Regions from separate parts of the Homo sapiens genome. Here regions 2, 3 and 4 are each linked to region 1. Evidence: promoter capture Hi-C in human tissues and cell types (Jung and others, 2019). All regions are on one chromosome and are shown on one strand. Each heading gives the region's core, a stretch centred on a gene start or on the middle of the fragment in contact. The rest is flanking DNA. Distances are from core to core; before and after follow the strand shown. Region 1 holds the start of NXPH1 (neurexophilin 1). Region 2 overlaps NXPH1 (neurexophilin 1). Region 3 overlaps NXPH1 (neurexophilin 1). Region 4 overlaps NXPH1 (neurexophilin 1).

Evidence for each region. The method cuts DNA at HindIII sites, captures the fragments that hold promoters and counts their contacts. A contact is called where the count stands out against the background at its distance.
Region 2: a fragment that was not itself captured here is called in contact with the fragment with the promoter of NXPH1 in region 1 in 2 of the 25 tissues and cell types used here (bladder and heart right ventricle).
Region 3: a fragment that was not itself captured here is called in contact with the fragment with the promoter of NXPH1 in region 1 in 2 of the 25 tissues and cell types used here (aorta and bladder).
Region 4: a contact is called between a fragment that was not itself captured here and the fragment with the promoter of NXPH1 in region 1, in 3 of the 25 tissues and cell types used here (bladder, dorsolateral prefrontal cortex and hippocampus).

The regions. Positions count from the first base shown.
Region 1 is chr7:8,432,038-8,435,608 of GRCh38, forward strand. It overlaps NXPH1 (neurexophilin 1), which reads left to right and starts at 1,572. Exons shown (of 3, transcript NM_152745.3): 1 at 1,572-2,718; 2 at 3,567-3,571. RefSeq lists enhancers at 2,136-2,683, 2,684-3,231, 3,232-3,571. The HindIII fragment of the contact is 8,604 bases long and covers 1-3,571 here.
Region 2 is chr7:8,632,516-8,636,086 of GRCh38, forward strand. All of the region lies in intron 2 of NXPH1 (neurexophilin 1), which reads left to right. Among named protein-coding and RNA genes, the nearest start is that of NXPH1, 200 kb to the left of the region's middle. The HindIII fragment of the contact is 4,875 bases long and covers 1-3,571 here.
Region 3 is chr7:8,606,069-8,609,639 of GRCh38, forward strand. The region is part of intron 2 of NXPH1 (neurexophilin 1); the gene reads left to right. All of the region lies in intron 2 of LOC105375144 (a long non-coding RNA gene), which reads right to left. Among named protein-coding and RNA genes, the nearest start is that of NXPH1, 170 kb to the left of the region's middle. The HindIII fragment of the contact is 5,461 bases long and covers 1-3,571 here.
Region 4 is chr7:8,573,544-8,577,114 of GRCh38, forward strand. All of the region lies in intron 2 of NXPH1 (neurexophilin 1), which reads left to right. The region is part of intron 3 of LOC105375144 (a long non-coding RNA gene); the gene reads right to left. Among named protein-coding and RNA genes, the nearest start is that of NXPH1, 140 kb to the left of the region's middle. The HindIII fragment of the contact is 6,342 bases long and covers 1-3,571 here.

The DNA of each region.
Region 1 (3,571 bases), core at 322-2,821:
ACTAGAAGCAGAATGTTTTTAAAGTAAGGTTTAGAAAAGAACTTGGTATATTCCAAAGCTAGCCGGATTCTTTCTCATTTTCCCAAAGGTCAGACAGAAGTTCAGCTCTGACAGCATTGTAGCTGGGAATCCAGATAGAGGCAGGCAACATTTGCTCCAGCTCTACACTCCAGTCTGGGAGGCCTGGGAGCTCCTGTACAAATAGGAATCAATTTTAGGATAGCCTTATGAATCCTAGAGGATGGAATTAGACAAAGCTTTTTTTGCCCCTGCTTTGACCATTTGGCCTCAGATACGGGTGCCCCAATACTTTAATTTTTCTTCTTTAAAGTTTAAAGTTTTTAAGAAAATGAAATAGCTGGTAAGTGAAAATAGTCAAGAAAACATTGTAATTATGCTATATGTACATGTGCGTTTTTTCTGAAGTGGATTTTCAGAGACACAGTTAGAAGGTGTGCTTCACTGCTTTATTCTGCATATGCCCCAATGAATTCCAGGAGGTCACAGCAGCAGAGTACAACTTTTAAGATTAGAAGAGCTTGCTCTTTAAAGAGTTATTTTTAGCTGGAAGGGAGAGTGTAGACCTCAAAGTGCTGGTAGGTATGTTCTACAGTGGGGATCTAATTTGGAGGTCTTTGGAGATCTGATTCCAGGGGAAGGTCTCAGTGGGGCTCCTCTTGCCTCTGCTGCAGGACTGGGTGGCTCTGCTGATTGTCACTGCCTTGTTTGAGGGGTGGTCTCCATCATCCAGGGGAATTCAGCCTGGGACCTATTGTCTAGAGTGTACATTGTATCTAGGCCCAGACCTGCCAGAGTGTCCACAGCCACACTTGAGGAAAGGACATTCCAGACTCATTAAATATCACAATTCGATTTTGATGTCACTAACTCAGGTTCCTGAGATAAATTTCCATACAATTCCTACAGATTGATATGGATATGTGCATCACCCCAGGAGAGGCTCTGGTGAAGGGCAGGCTTGGAGATGCAATGGGCAAGGTTGGGGAAGAGATACCCTCTTCCGGGTTCCGATTTGTGCCCTGAATTTGGGCAAGCTCAAGGAGCACTGGCAACCCCACCAGCACCAGAAGAAGCTGGTCCTGGCTGTCTCCCGAGACTGGTGAAACTGCTCTGGTGGTGGTGCACTGGAAGGGTGGAGGAAAAAAAACAAAAAACAAAACAGGGTTTGAGGGGGAATGGCAGGGACACGGTAGAGGCACAGAGATACAGAGACCTAGAGTCAGAAATCCTGAGTGAGACACACAGAAAGGCAGAAAAAGGCAGAAAGATGCTGAGGGACAGAGACGCAGACCACAAGAATGACAGAAGAAGGAGACAGAGAGAGAGAGGGAGTGAGAAAGATACTGAGAAATAGGGACAGTAAGGGAGAGACTGAGAAAGACAGAGACAGCCAGAGTCGGAGCACAGAGGCCGAGTCTGGGAGACGCTGGTTGAGTGGGAGGTGTCAGTAGCGAGGGAGGTGGTGACGGCTCGAAGCATCCCCCGTCCTCCTCCTCCCCCTTCACGCTCAGCCCAGCCGGCGGCGAGGAGTCCAGAGGCCAAGGTCGCCCAGTCCTCTCGGCTGTCTCGAGCTGAATGGCTGGCAGTCTGCGGCTCCCCCGCCTCCGGCCCGGCAGCCACAGGTCGGAGGCGCCCGGCGTCGGCGCTCGAGGCCGGCAGGGGCGCCCTGCACCCTCCCGCGCCCTTCCCCGCCCTACGCGACTCCCGGCTGCTCTTCCCGCCACTCCCCTGGGCTTTGCGATCTTCCCTACGCCCCCCGGGAAGGGGGCGCTGCGGCCACCGAAGACACCGCGGGAGCCACTTGTCCCTGTGGGCCCAGCCCGCGAGAGCCTGAGAGCCGGATCTGTTTACACAGGGTACTAATTAGTCTTTGAGGAATCATTCACCCACGTGCCAAAGTAATTGTCCGTGTCAGGAAGGTAGGCGTGCCAAGCCGCGGCTCTGCGGAGAAACCACGACCACCGCGGCCGCCGGAAACCCAAAGCGCTCCAGAGCGTCCCCGGGTGGCCGGGCAGCACCAGGGACAGCGCCCGGGACTCCACTGGGGACCGGCTCCTGGGCTTCCCAGCGTCGCGGGTAGAGGTACAGCTGCTCCGTGTGCCGCAGGCTCCAGATTCTCGCCACCCCACCCCTCCCTCAGAAACTCGGACTGCTCTCGTCTGCCGTGTGGTTCTCTTTTCTTCCGAAAGGCCAGTGTCTTATCTCTCCACTTCAAGTCCAGAGGACTTGCTCAGTCTCCTCCCCTTAAGTCATTTCCACCATCCTCAGGCAGCTGTGGGAAGCCGAGAGTCCTGGACTGTTCGTCCGGGTGCCAGCGCTGGCAGTCCCAGTCCGTCCGGTGCAGCAGCCCGGCGCATTCCCCTCTCTCCCTCCCTCTTGCTCTCCCTCCCTTTCTGTCTTCCTCTCTTTCCTCCTCTACTGCTCCCTCCCTCTCTTGCCTCTTAAGTTTCCTGCACCGTGAATCCAACTGTGCCAAGCCTTGGCTCCCGCGAACCAATCCTGAGCGCGACCCGGGCACTGGGACGGCGACTCCGCCAAAGCTGGACGAGGCAGCCGGACCCGTCTGCGCTCGAGCATGGAGACGGAGCGCCTGGGAGGGCACGTCCGGGGCGCTGGAGACGCCAGGCCCGAGTAGCTTCTCCATGGAGCCTGCCCAGAGCGGTCCCTTCTCGCAGGATTCGCCCCAAGTCCTGTGCGGTACGTACCCTTTGCCTCCGCTGTTCCCGGAGGGTACACCTGGGAGCGGGGTGGTGGGCACGAGGAAGGGACGGCAGGGAGGGGCGCTGGTTAGGAAAGAGAACAAGCCTGGCAGGTGACCCTCACAGCTCGGAGGAGGCTTCTTCTCTAGAAGTTAGCGACCGGCTGTACCCTTTGGCTCGAAAAAAGTAGTGCTAGAGATGTGACTGTGAGCATTCGTGGGTATCTCTGTGTGCGCCAGGGGTTCGAATGGGTAAACTGATCCCTGCTTTCCTGTATGCAAATTGCATTCTCTTTCCCCACCCCCACTTCACCGAACGTGTTGAGGTACCTAGCACCTAATCGCGGTCAGTTCTACCTACCTCTTCCTCTCACCGCGCCCCCCTCGCTCAATCTCTCTCTCTCCCTTTATCTTTCCCCTCTATCTCTCTCTGCTGGTGTGTACGTGTGTGAGCACTGCCAGGGCTGGCGAAGAACCAGCCGCCGCCTTTAGTCCGAGCCGCCGGGCCACCCAACACAAGGGCAGGTCTCGCTGCCGGAGAAGCCTGGGCTCCGAACCAGCCTGCACGCGGCTCAGTGTGCTCCGCCGCCTGGGAACTCGCACCCGAGGAGCGCAGGGGGCAAGGAGCCCCTCACCCTCCCTCTCGTCCGCCCGCCCGCCTCCCCAGCTGCGGACCGCGCGCTTGCTGGTCTCAGGCGCTGGATTTACTCGCTTTTCAATTTTTCGTACCCTCCCTCCCTTTTTTTTTTGGTCCCCCACTCCCCGCTACGACCCCCTTTCCCCGCTTGATTGTCAAGCCTAACCTTGCCCGCGTAGTCATGGGATGTCTAATTTTATTTGCATCTAGGCTGC
Region 2 (3,571 bases), core at 652-3,151, 200 kb after region 1:
GATTTTTCTCACTTATATGCTTAGCGGCTAGTCTTGTCTATTTCCCAAATGCAGCAACTGGCACAGTGACTGGAGCATGGAATCTGTTCTTATCGCCTTATGATTCTTCTGAATTAGAAAGCATTCTCCTCAAAGATGGCAGCTGTGTGGCTAGCTTTCTCCTTGTAAGTTAATATACTGTTGCCTTAACTTACTCTCAAATTTCCCCTCCCATGAGAATTTCCGTGGTGTAGAGCTGTAATTGTAAAGTAGGGCTTCTAAGGCCCCTAGAAATATTGTAGTTTGTTAGAAGATTTTGAATATATCTTTCTAGAATTTTATTGAACCACAGTCTACTTAGATGAGCATTCTAATAATCAAGTACCTAGTGAAAAGGAAACATGACAAATATATTTTTGGGGCAGATTATTTACTGCTCTGTGCATTATTACATCACTTCAGCCACAAGAGTATGGATGATTCTTTTTCAAATTGTAATTAATTCATGTGTTGAGAATGTGGGAAACTACTTCATGAAATTTTACAAATATTATCAGTGATGCATCCATGTGCTTCTACATGCAACCAAACTCACATAAAATCAATTAATAATGAAGTTAATACAACCATAATGTATCATTAAAATAAAAGTAACAGGCCGGGCATGGTGGCTCACGCCTGTAATCCCGTCACTTTGGGAGGATGAGGCAGGTGGATTACGAGGTCAGGAGATGGAGGCCATCCTGGCTAACATGGTGAAACACTGTGTCTACTAAAAATACAAAAAGCCGGATGTGGTGGCATGCGCCTGTAATCCCAGCTACTCAGGAGGCTGAGGCAGGGGAATCACTTGAACCCAGGAGGCGGAGATTGCAGTGAGCCAAGATCGTGCCACTGTAGCCTAGAGACAGAGCGAGAGTCCATCTCAAAAAAGACATCCTTGTTGATGATCTCACAATAGAGTTTCCTTCTTTAGAATTATGCGGATGTGAAAGCGCACACACATTGTACTACAGTGTTGCGTGACAACCGAATTTCTCAGTAGAATACTGAATTTCAGCCTCAGTAAGCTCTAATGATCTTCTAACATTCATTTATAAAACCCAAACTTTAGAAACACTTAACAAACCACTCAACAGGATGTTTAGTAACGTTTAACAATTTGCAAAAAATAATTGCCAATTACCCAGAAGACCTGAAAAAAGAATTCGTAATTTTTATACAGCCCATGGTTCATCAAGCTGAACCTTGCATGAGCTGACAACAATGCATGTTTGACAGTCTCTCTTGAGTTGAACCCTCTTTTTGTGGATGACAAAACTGAGGTCTGCGGAAGGAAGGTTCTTGTCAGTTGTAGTAAAGTTAAATATTTTTCAATTTTTTGTGTGAAGTATTTGCTTAAGAATTTGAAGTCCAGGTTATATGCTGGGCCAGTTTCCTTATTTATGAAAACACCTTTGCTTAAGAGCATCTGTAAATAGAGATTTCTTCCTATTATGGGGTCATTTATTCCATTATAGGGTAATTCTGATTGTTTGAAAGTTGAGTCTGATGTGAGGCTGAAATCGAATCTGTCTCATGACAATTTCTATTTATTTTTTCATTTCCTGGTGATGTCGTTTAGCTGTGTCCCCACTCAAATCTCATCTTGAACTGTAGCTCCCATAATCCCCACGTATCATGGGAGAGACCCGGTGGTACGTAATTGAATCATGGGGGCGGGTTTTCCCATGCTGTTCTCATGATAGTGAATATCTCATGAGAACTGATGGTTTCATAAAGGGCGGTTCCCCTGCACATGTTCTCTTGCCTGCAGCCATGTAAGAGGTGCCTATGCTCCTCCTTCACCTTCCACCATGATTGTGAGGTCTCCCCAGCCATGTGGAACTGGGAGTCCATTTTTACTTAGTAAATTTAATTTACTTTGTAAATTAAGTCTTTTACTTTGTAAATTACCTAGTCTTGGGTATTTCTTCAAAGCAGTGTGAAAATAGACTAATACACCTGGATAATGATAAGGTTTGTTTTGTTTTGCTATCATACTCATCTGAGTGTTTCAGGCCTATGATATGGCCAGATTTGCATTAACTTACAAAGCAAGAGGTATAAAATTCTTTGGAGTGAGTTCTTTCTTCTGCAGTTATCTGCATGGTAGAGATTGTCCAGAAGAGTTTTTTTTTTTTTTTTTTTTTTTTTTTTTTCCAAAGAGCAGCCTCACTTCACCATGTGATTTGCTTTGAGATGGAAATGGCCCAGGAAATGATAGGGTTTATATCTATCTTCTTACTTAATAGGAAAGCATGCAGATGTAAAGAACTCCTCTCTGCCCCAAATCTCTGATAATTTCCCCAAGAATAAGTATTGAGAACTCCAGAATTCAGATGTTTCAACTCCTTCACAAGACACTTTTAAAGTACTTGAATAATAATTTCTGTATAACTTTCTGCTGTGTGTAGAAATGACTCTTTTGCTTCTCACCATTGACATATTACTGGAAGTGCAAACAACATTTGATGATGTAGCTATAATACTGGGAGTTTTGAACAATAGCTATCTCTAATCACATTTGTCAAAAGCAGACTAGAGATCTTACCTGTCTGAAGTTGTCAACCCGTAGGCCATTTTTCTAGAGGCAACCTAAAGTGCTGAATAAGATTTGCAAGTGGAAAAAAATGCTATGTCACCGAGGTAGAGGTAAGCTTGGAGCCCAAGTACTGTGCATAATTCTTCAAAGGTTATGAGAATGACAGCTATTAGCAGGCTGAAGGCACAATTCTTTAAGAACTAACACACAGCAGTCTTTGTTGCCTTTTGCCCTAAAATCTCACATCACATTCTATTTGGTTAGACAGCTATTGAACTCAAAAGAACTTCAGAGTTTCTTTCAAGTTTCTTTTCCTACCTTTCTCTTTTTAGTGGTATAAATGCATTCAATCTCTTGGGCACCCTTTGAATTATTTTATTAAATTCTGCAAGATCTTAGTGATTGGTTTCTGGTATTTCCTCCATTATCAAGACCACTGCTAAATCTTAAGGGCAATGTTATGGGTATAGAAAAAAGAAAATAAAGATGCATCAAGATAGATATGTTAGATAGAGAACCATCACTCAATTACCTGCCAGAACGTTGGAGAGTGACTGTGATGACACCGGGTCTAAAAGCATTTGAAATATTTAAAAAGAAATGTAATAACAGATCAACCCCCTATAGAAATCGTATTTTATTCTACTGAATTGTTTCTTGGAAGCATTTACGTCTTTAACCAATGGAAAGATGAAACAGCTTTTTTTCTTTTTTTGACAATTAAAAAAGTTTGGTCCAACTGAATTTAGAATATATACACTTGGATAGTTTGCCCATTTGTTTCAGCTAACTGGTAGGGTTTTTAAATGTGTACTAATTGTACCTCCTATTTATAGAAAAAAAGTGCTGTTCTTTGAGAGAGAGAAAGAATCCAGGAAATATGATGCTTAAAGGTAATGTCTTTCACTACACCCACTGAAGGTCACTTTATCTATCCAAGGGTAAAGTTTTTCTTTCTCTCTTTTATTTTTATTGAAGTTGGACTGCAGCCTGCATAGACTTTCTTTT
Region 3 (3,571 bases), core at 378-2,877, 170 kb after region 1:
GGGATTGGGTAGCAATGACCTACAATGATGCTATTAAACATAGTACAACAGACAAGTTGACCTTTTCAGGTATTCAGTACTCAATTTAACATCACTGTTTGTTCTATATATAATTTCCTTTATTACATTTAGGAAACAGATGAACAGATTGATAGAAGATGAGAGGAAAATTGTATATTTTGTAGTACAATATAAAACACCTAAGAATAAAAAAAAATATGTTTTATGGAAAACTCTTCTCCTTTTCCCCACCCTACGTAACCCCTAACCACATACAACTTCAACCAAAGGAAAGAAACCTACGTTACTTGTTTGAACAATCTTGTGCCTGCTTCAAAGGTACTGTTAACAATGTGATGTATTTTGCATTTGCCTCTGGGGATTTACCACTCAATATTAAAGTACTTCCCACTGTGACATTTTAAAAACTGTCTCTTTCCTCTGCTGAGCTAAAAACATAATGGGGATCAAGAAAACCATCTGAAACAAGCATAGTATAAAATTTCTGCCAGGCATTGGAAGTTAAGGCATGGTTTTTGACCCTCCTTTTGTACTGGGCAAAGATACAGGACTGCTGCCCTCTCACTCTGCCTTTTCAAAAGCTTGTTAAATGAATTGCCTCTGCCATATTGTAAACTTGACATATTTGCCCAGGGTCTTTGGTTCAAATCTAAGTGTATATCCTCCTAGTCCAGTGAATATGTGCAGAATGATATTTGTAAATCAAGACATGATAGTGATGCTACTTTCTGAAGAATCTAAAAAAACAGAATTGGTAGGAAGCTGGGATTAGATGATGAGAACATATAGTTTCTTGAAAATATTTTTATTTTTTTCTAGATATATATTTCTACCTTGAAAAGCAAACCACTAATTTTATTGATTGCTTGATTTCTGATGTTTTGTGAATATAACCTATTCTTAGTAAATTTGGTAATCTGAGGACATATTTTATTGAATAATTTTAGTTGGGGCTTTAATTCTAGTTTTTCCTGGGACAAATATACGGTTGGACTCATATATATCCTGGGACCAATACAGTTTAAATTATAGTAAAATTAACAAAATTAACTCGAAGTTTGAACTTGAACAGTGTGAAATCACATTGGAACATTTTAAATTTAGTAGCAATAATTGGCCTATCCATAATTAATACAGTACTTATATATATTATTGCTTAAATAGGTGTTTAAATTTTACATGCTCTGGGTGATTTTGCTTAAATGAGTTAAAAGCACAGTTTAATTAAGACCAATGAGTTGCTAGAAGAATGCATTTGGCTTCATACTTTTCTTGGATCGTGTCACTCGATACAGTACTCACTAACTAGTGGCAAATAAAAAAGTCAATAAATTCCTGTTTCCATCAACTAGACTAATGAACTTCATTAGTTGATCATGTTATCAGTATAATTACTACAGACCACATTTTGCCCTTGGCTATTAATGCAACAGACTTCTGTACTTAGAAGAACTGCCTAAGAAGAGAACTCAGGTTAACTCTGGCAAATAACTTTGACTCTTTTCTTTCTAAAATCATTATTATATCCTCTGGAAATAGAGTATCCCATATACTCAGCTATGATGGTTTTCACATTGAACTGTGGGAATATGTTGCTAGACCCCTTTGCTTTGTTATAATTGTGTTGGCTATGCCTTTATGGGATACTGTTGTGGGTTGAAATATGTTCCCCAAAAAGATCTGTTGAGGTCCTAACATCTGGTTCCTGTGAATATGACCCAATTTGGAAATAGAGTCATAACAGATGTAAATTAAGATGAAGTCGTACTGAAGTAAGGTGGACTCTTAATCCAATATGACTGGTGCCCTCGTGAGGTGAGAAGAGACACACACATACCTAGGGAAAATGCCATGTGGCGATAGAAGTCAAGATCAGAGTGATGCAGCTGCAAGCCAAGGAATGCCAAGGATTGGTGGTGACCACCAGAAACTGGGAGGAGGTAAGGAAGGATTCTATCCGGAGTCTCAGAGAGAACACTGCTTTGCTGATTCCCTAATTTTGGCTTCTACCCTCTGGAACTGTGGGAGAATACATTTCCATTGTTTTCAGCCACCCAGTTTGTGGTACTTTGTTATAGCAGCCTGAGGAAACTAATACAAATTTCTTACTTGAATTATTAACCATAATAGATTAACTACTTAGCTAGTTAGGAGGAAGTGATCAGCTGTTCTCAGGGATAAATGGAAGTCTTGAAAGTCCAAGAATTATTCATTAGGACAAATTCTTAAAAATTCAGTGATTTTTTTTTTTTTTTTGAGACAGGGTCTTGCTTTGTCATCCAGGCTGCAGTGCAGTGGAGTGGTCACAACTCACTGCAACTTCAGCCTCCTGGGCTCAAGCAAGCCTCCCACCTCAGTAGCCTCCCACTCCTGATTAGCTGGGACTACAGTGATGTGTCGCCATGCCCAGCCTAGTGGTATTTTTAACAGATAAATAAGAATGGAGGTAGTGGCAGAGGTGGAGTGAGAAGAGAGACAAGTAAAATATAGAAATTTGAGGGAAGTGAAATGGCCCTTTCTGTATTTTTTTAAAAATATGGAGGTTTGCATCTTCTTGATTTGCAGCTTTGAAAACATTGACTTTTTTGTGCGTCATATGACACTAATAACAGAAACTACCCCACCAAAATACCACCACAAACTTCACTTAAAATAAACTCCAAAGAAGAATCCATTTTTCGTGTGATATGAATGACAAATGATTATAAGGAATTTTAATAATTTATATAAAAATCCAAAGAGTCATATTGTAAGTACTGACAGGTATACTAGGGAGTTTTTGATCACACTTAAAAATTACTTGTGTAATTAGGTACAACATTAAAATGAGAACAGGGATATATACAGTAAGTCCTCACCTAATGTCATTGATAGGTTCTTGGAAACTTGACTTTAAGGGAAATGACTACTCTATAATGAAACAAATTTTATCCCAGCTTAAATGATATAAATGAGAGTCATTTTGCTTGACATCACTGTTTACAAGAACCTATCAGTGATTTTAGGTGTGGACTTATTGTGTGCATAATTCATATATTATTTAACAATATATTAGGTCCAAAGATATATCTCTGGCTTTCTTATTCTACAGATGGTTAATGTCTGCTAGCTAAGCTAGGTAAGTTAGGAAAAGCTTAGAAGCTCAATACATGTAAGCAAATAAAAAACCCAAAAACATCATTTTAGACGATTCTTTAACCTTCTATTCTAAAATTATGGCAGGCACTATACGTAAGGGCTTTATAGTTTACATTTTGTAGACGAAGAATATAACAATCAAGAAACAGTCTAAAAAACTGGCAATGGAAGAAAGAATGAAGAGAAACCCAAGACTTAGCTAATTCATGATGTTGCCTCAAATATCAAGAAGCTGGTATTATGCAAATGGATCTTGTGAGAGGAAATGAACTCAGAACTGAGATTATGACTGTGACGTACTTTGAGACACTTTCAGAAAGATTGAAAGACGAAAAGATATTTCTTGGTACAAAGCACATTATGATTGATGACTGTTTGAGGGCAGTTATCTTTAAACTAGTATTACAGACAA
Region 4 (3,571 bases), core at 458-2,957, 140 kb after region 1:
TGGAGCATAATGCATGAGTGATGGATAGGTACAAACAGCCTGAAAAGGCACTTTAGAACCAGGTTATGGAAGCTCTTAAATGCCAAACTAATGCAATGAGCTTTCTTTTTGCAGGGAGTTGTGAGCCATGGAAGGCTTCTGAGTAGGAGAATGCCATGACTTTAGAACTTTCTTCCAGTTAATTATAGGTTATTAAATGTCTCTGAACTTTTGGATCATGACCAAATAATATTTAAGGTCATCAGCTATCAAAATTTGAATGTCTGGAAATAAACTATGCCATTGGCTCCTGATGTTTAAAGACATCATTGACATTTACCTTATTGAACATAAATTGATTTTTACACACTTCTGTCAGTGACTACATAAAGCTCCTGGAAGGTAAAAAGTGCTAGGTCAATTCTATGTCATGGAAACCTTTAAAGGTGTACTCTGGTGGTATACAGAACTGTGAGTGTCATAAAGATTTATTGAGGATTTAAGATGTTCTTAGGACCTTCTAGCTTAATGATGTGCCCTGTAAGTGTTCAGGCTCTGAGCAGGACCAGAAGAGCAAAAATGGTATAAAAAGGCTATTCAGGTACATATTGTCTATTTAAAATCTGTACACGGTTTGCACCTTTTCCCTAAGTGTTCTGTTTGTCTATGACATGAAATATTCATCTGAAAAGCTAAATAAAATACTCAAATTTATTTTATATTTTCTAGGCAAAACTGTTTTTTTAAATTTTCAAAATTAAAAACATTTTTTTAAGAGATGGGGTCTTTCTATGTTGCCCAGGCTTGTCTCCAGCTCCTGGGCTCCAGCGATCCTCCTGCCTCAGCCTCCCAAGTAGCTGGGACTCTGACTCGAACTGACTTTATTTTATTTTCTCTCATCACATAGATGTTTTTATGGAGCCATTACAGATTCAGTTTAAGATTGCTCAGTCTAGTCAATAGGTTGTCTCTTTCTGAAGGAAAAAGATGGAATCTGTTAACTTCTTTCACATGAGTGCATACCCACAAAAAGGAAGATGGAACCCCAGATGGAGAAGGAAGGCCAAACAACACCACAGGTTGTTTTCCTGGTGTCTGCATCACATGTACTTAGTGGGTGGGACAATGAAAGCTTCCAAATTTAGAATCTATTTAAACATTGAAGGTTCTGTGTTTCAAATTCAACTTGATCTTGTTCAGCCTTGGATTCCGTCTCCTGCTGTCACAACATCCCTTCTCAATTCGAAAGGGAAGAAAAGAGATTCATAGGACCTCAAATAGAGTTTCTCTGGCATGGCTGTGCATCAAGTGTAAATGAATCAGAAAACTGAGCATTAACTTTTACTTGAAATAGATAAGACTTTAAAAAATAGGGATAAAAATGCACTGATGGTTTGAAATAGCAATTCAAGTAGTTTTATGGCACTTACCACCAGACATGCTTGGTTAAGAGAGTGAGGTACTCCTTCGACATTATAGCATTCGTCGGAGACGTTCTGTTAAATCTAAAATGTAAATAGCTTCTCCCTTTTATATTATGTTTGACTCTGACATTAATGCTGTATCCTTTAAGTGACTAAAAGAGTATTTCTGACTAAGCCTTCTAATTTTGTCATAAAACTTTGCTCAGAATGAATTTTTGCTTAAAAGGCCAACTCTAATCCATTTTTCTTTTGGCCAATTTAAAGCAAATAAATCAGGTCAGTTCTCTTTATGACACAAAAGGGAAAAATGATAAGTTTTCTTACTTCATACTCTTTTATTTTTGAATTTCTACAACTAAAATGTCTCTTTTTCTCCTTTAAGTACAAGCTGACAGGTCATTAATCCTTAATGTGAATTTATACCTCTGGGTATTTTGGGAAGAAAACTCATTAAAATTCTTTTGTTTTATATGTGACTGTCCTAATAGAAATTTGGAGTTCATGTTTAGAATTTGTTTCAATGAATAGAAAGCATAGAAATTCTTTTAAAAGAGTTGAAGTATATGAAATTACTTCTACCTACAGTCAATGCTGTTGCTCTGATCTTAAAAGTCTGCTGCTAACTTTTCTGCAGAAAGAACATAAGTTCTGTAAGCTCCATATTTTCAATGTGAATAGATTTATTCCATTTGAATTATCTGGATAGGCCTATGCACTTAATATAATTTTCTATAATGTTTCCTGTTTTTCTGTGAAGCACTGTTTTATTTTTCTTTAATTCTACCAAAAGGTGAGGCATTGGGCAATGATCTTTTTTTTTTTTAAATAAGCTCTTACTTGGTCAAAGTTAGCTAGCTATGGCTTATGTATAGGCCCATTTTATGGATACTGGTGGATATATTCTGCAGCCTGTTGCTGGATCATAGTTTCCCATTATTTCCTCTCTCTCCAGTTTCTTCCTTCTTTATAGAGTGCTTGAAAGCCTTCTAAATGAAAAAGAACTGCTATCAACAAACTTATATTTCAAGATTATTAGAGAGATTTTATCATCTGTAAAAACTTCCCATCTCAATAGGGGATGGGTATACCTGCTTCTCTGATTGTCCAGAATAGCTTCTATCTCTTTTTATTCTAGCCACTGATAACAACACAAGAACTGATGAAGAGAGATATGCCTTTTATTTGCTTTCTTTTTCTTAAGCAAGTATATCAAACTCTTCCATGGTCTTAACTGTATTCTAGGCATATGTTTGAAAACTCCATTCATTTCATGTTTCCATACTTAGCAAACATCAACTATGCCTTGAACACTGTGTTGGGCACTGGGAGCACAATAATGACCAAAGTAGTCATCATCCATGCCCTTTGGGGTAGGAGTGAGGAGAATGTGGCAATCAATGCTATCTGACTTGTTCCACAGGGAATAAAAGTGACAGCTGCGATAAGTGGTATTAAGGACAGACATGGTGCTATCATGTGTATAATAGGAAGAACTAATTTCTACTGAAGCGCAAGGAAACCTTTCTTGAAGTACGTTTGAATGAAAGGATGTACTGAGGGACATTCTAGACAATGTAGCTTATGGAAGAAAGTGGTGAATGACTGTAATGTAGGACTGAAGGAAGGCTGCAGCCTTCTTTCACACGTAGGCTTAGGAGGGGTCTTGTGAGGTGAGGTGGGAAAGTTATATTGGGACCAGATCGTACATGACTTTGTGGAACAGACAGTAGAAAAAAAGGATCTAGGAGATAGTGATTTATTAGATAAGAGAGGTGAGGGAGAGAGATGTGATAGGATAAGTACCATGTTTTTGACTTGTTCCTTGTACTGATGATGGTTGTTCTTCATTGAAATGTTGCTTTTCTCTTGAGTTCATTAGATTATAAACTCCTATAGGGTCAGAGTTATGTTTCCAGATGAACTAGTAATCTTGAATATTAAAGTAATCAATTCTGGTCTGCAAAATTCTCTTTTTACTCTGAATGGCCTTTACTCTTTTATGGTGAAAATTTACAAATATTTACTCAAGCATCTGAGTTCCTTTAGAAACAAGGCCAAAGAAAATGCAAATAATGTTATTATTATAACTTTGAAATAATGTTATTATTAGAACATTTGAAATGATAATAATATTAATACTGTATTAGTCAGGAATTCTAAAAGCTCAA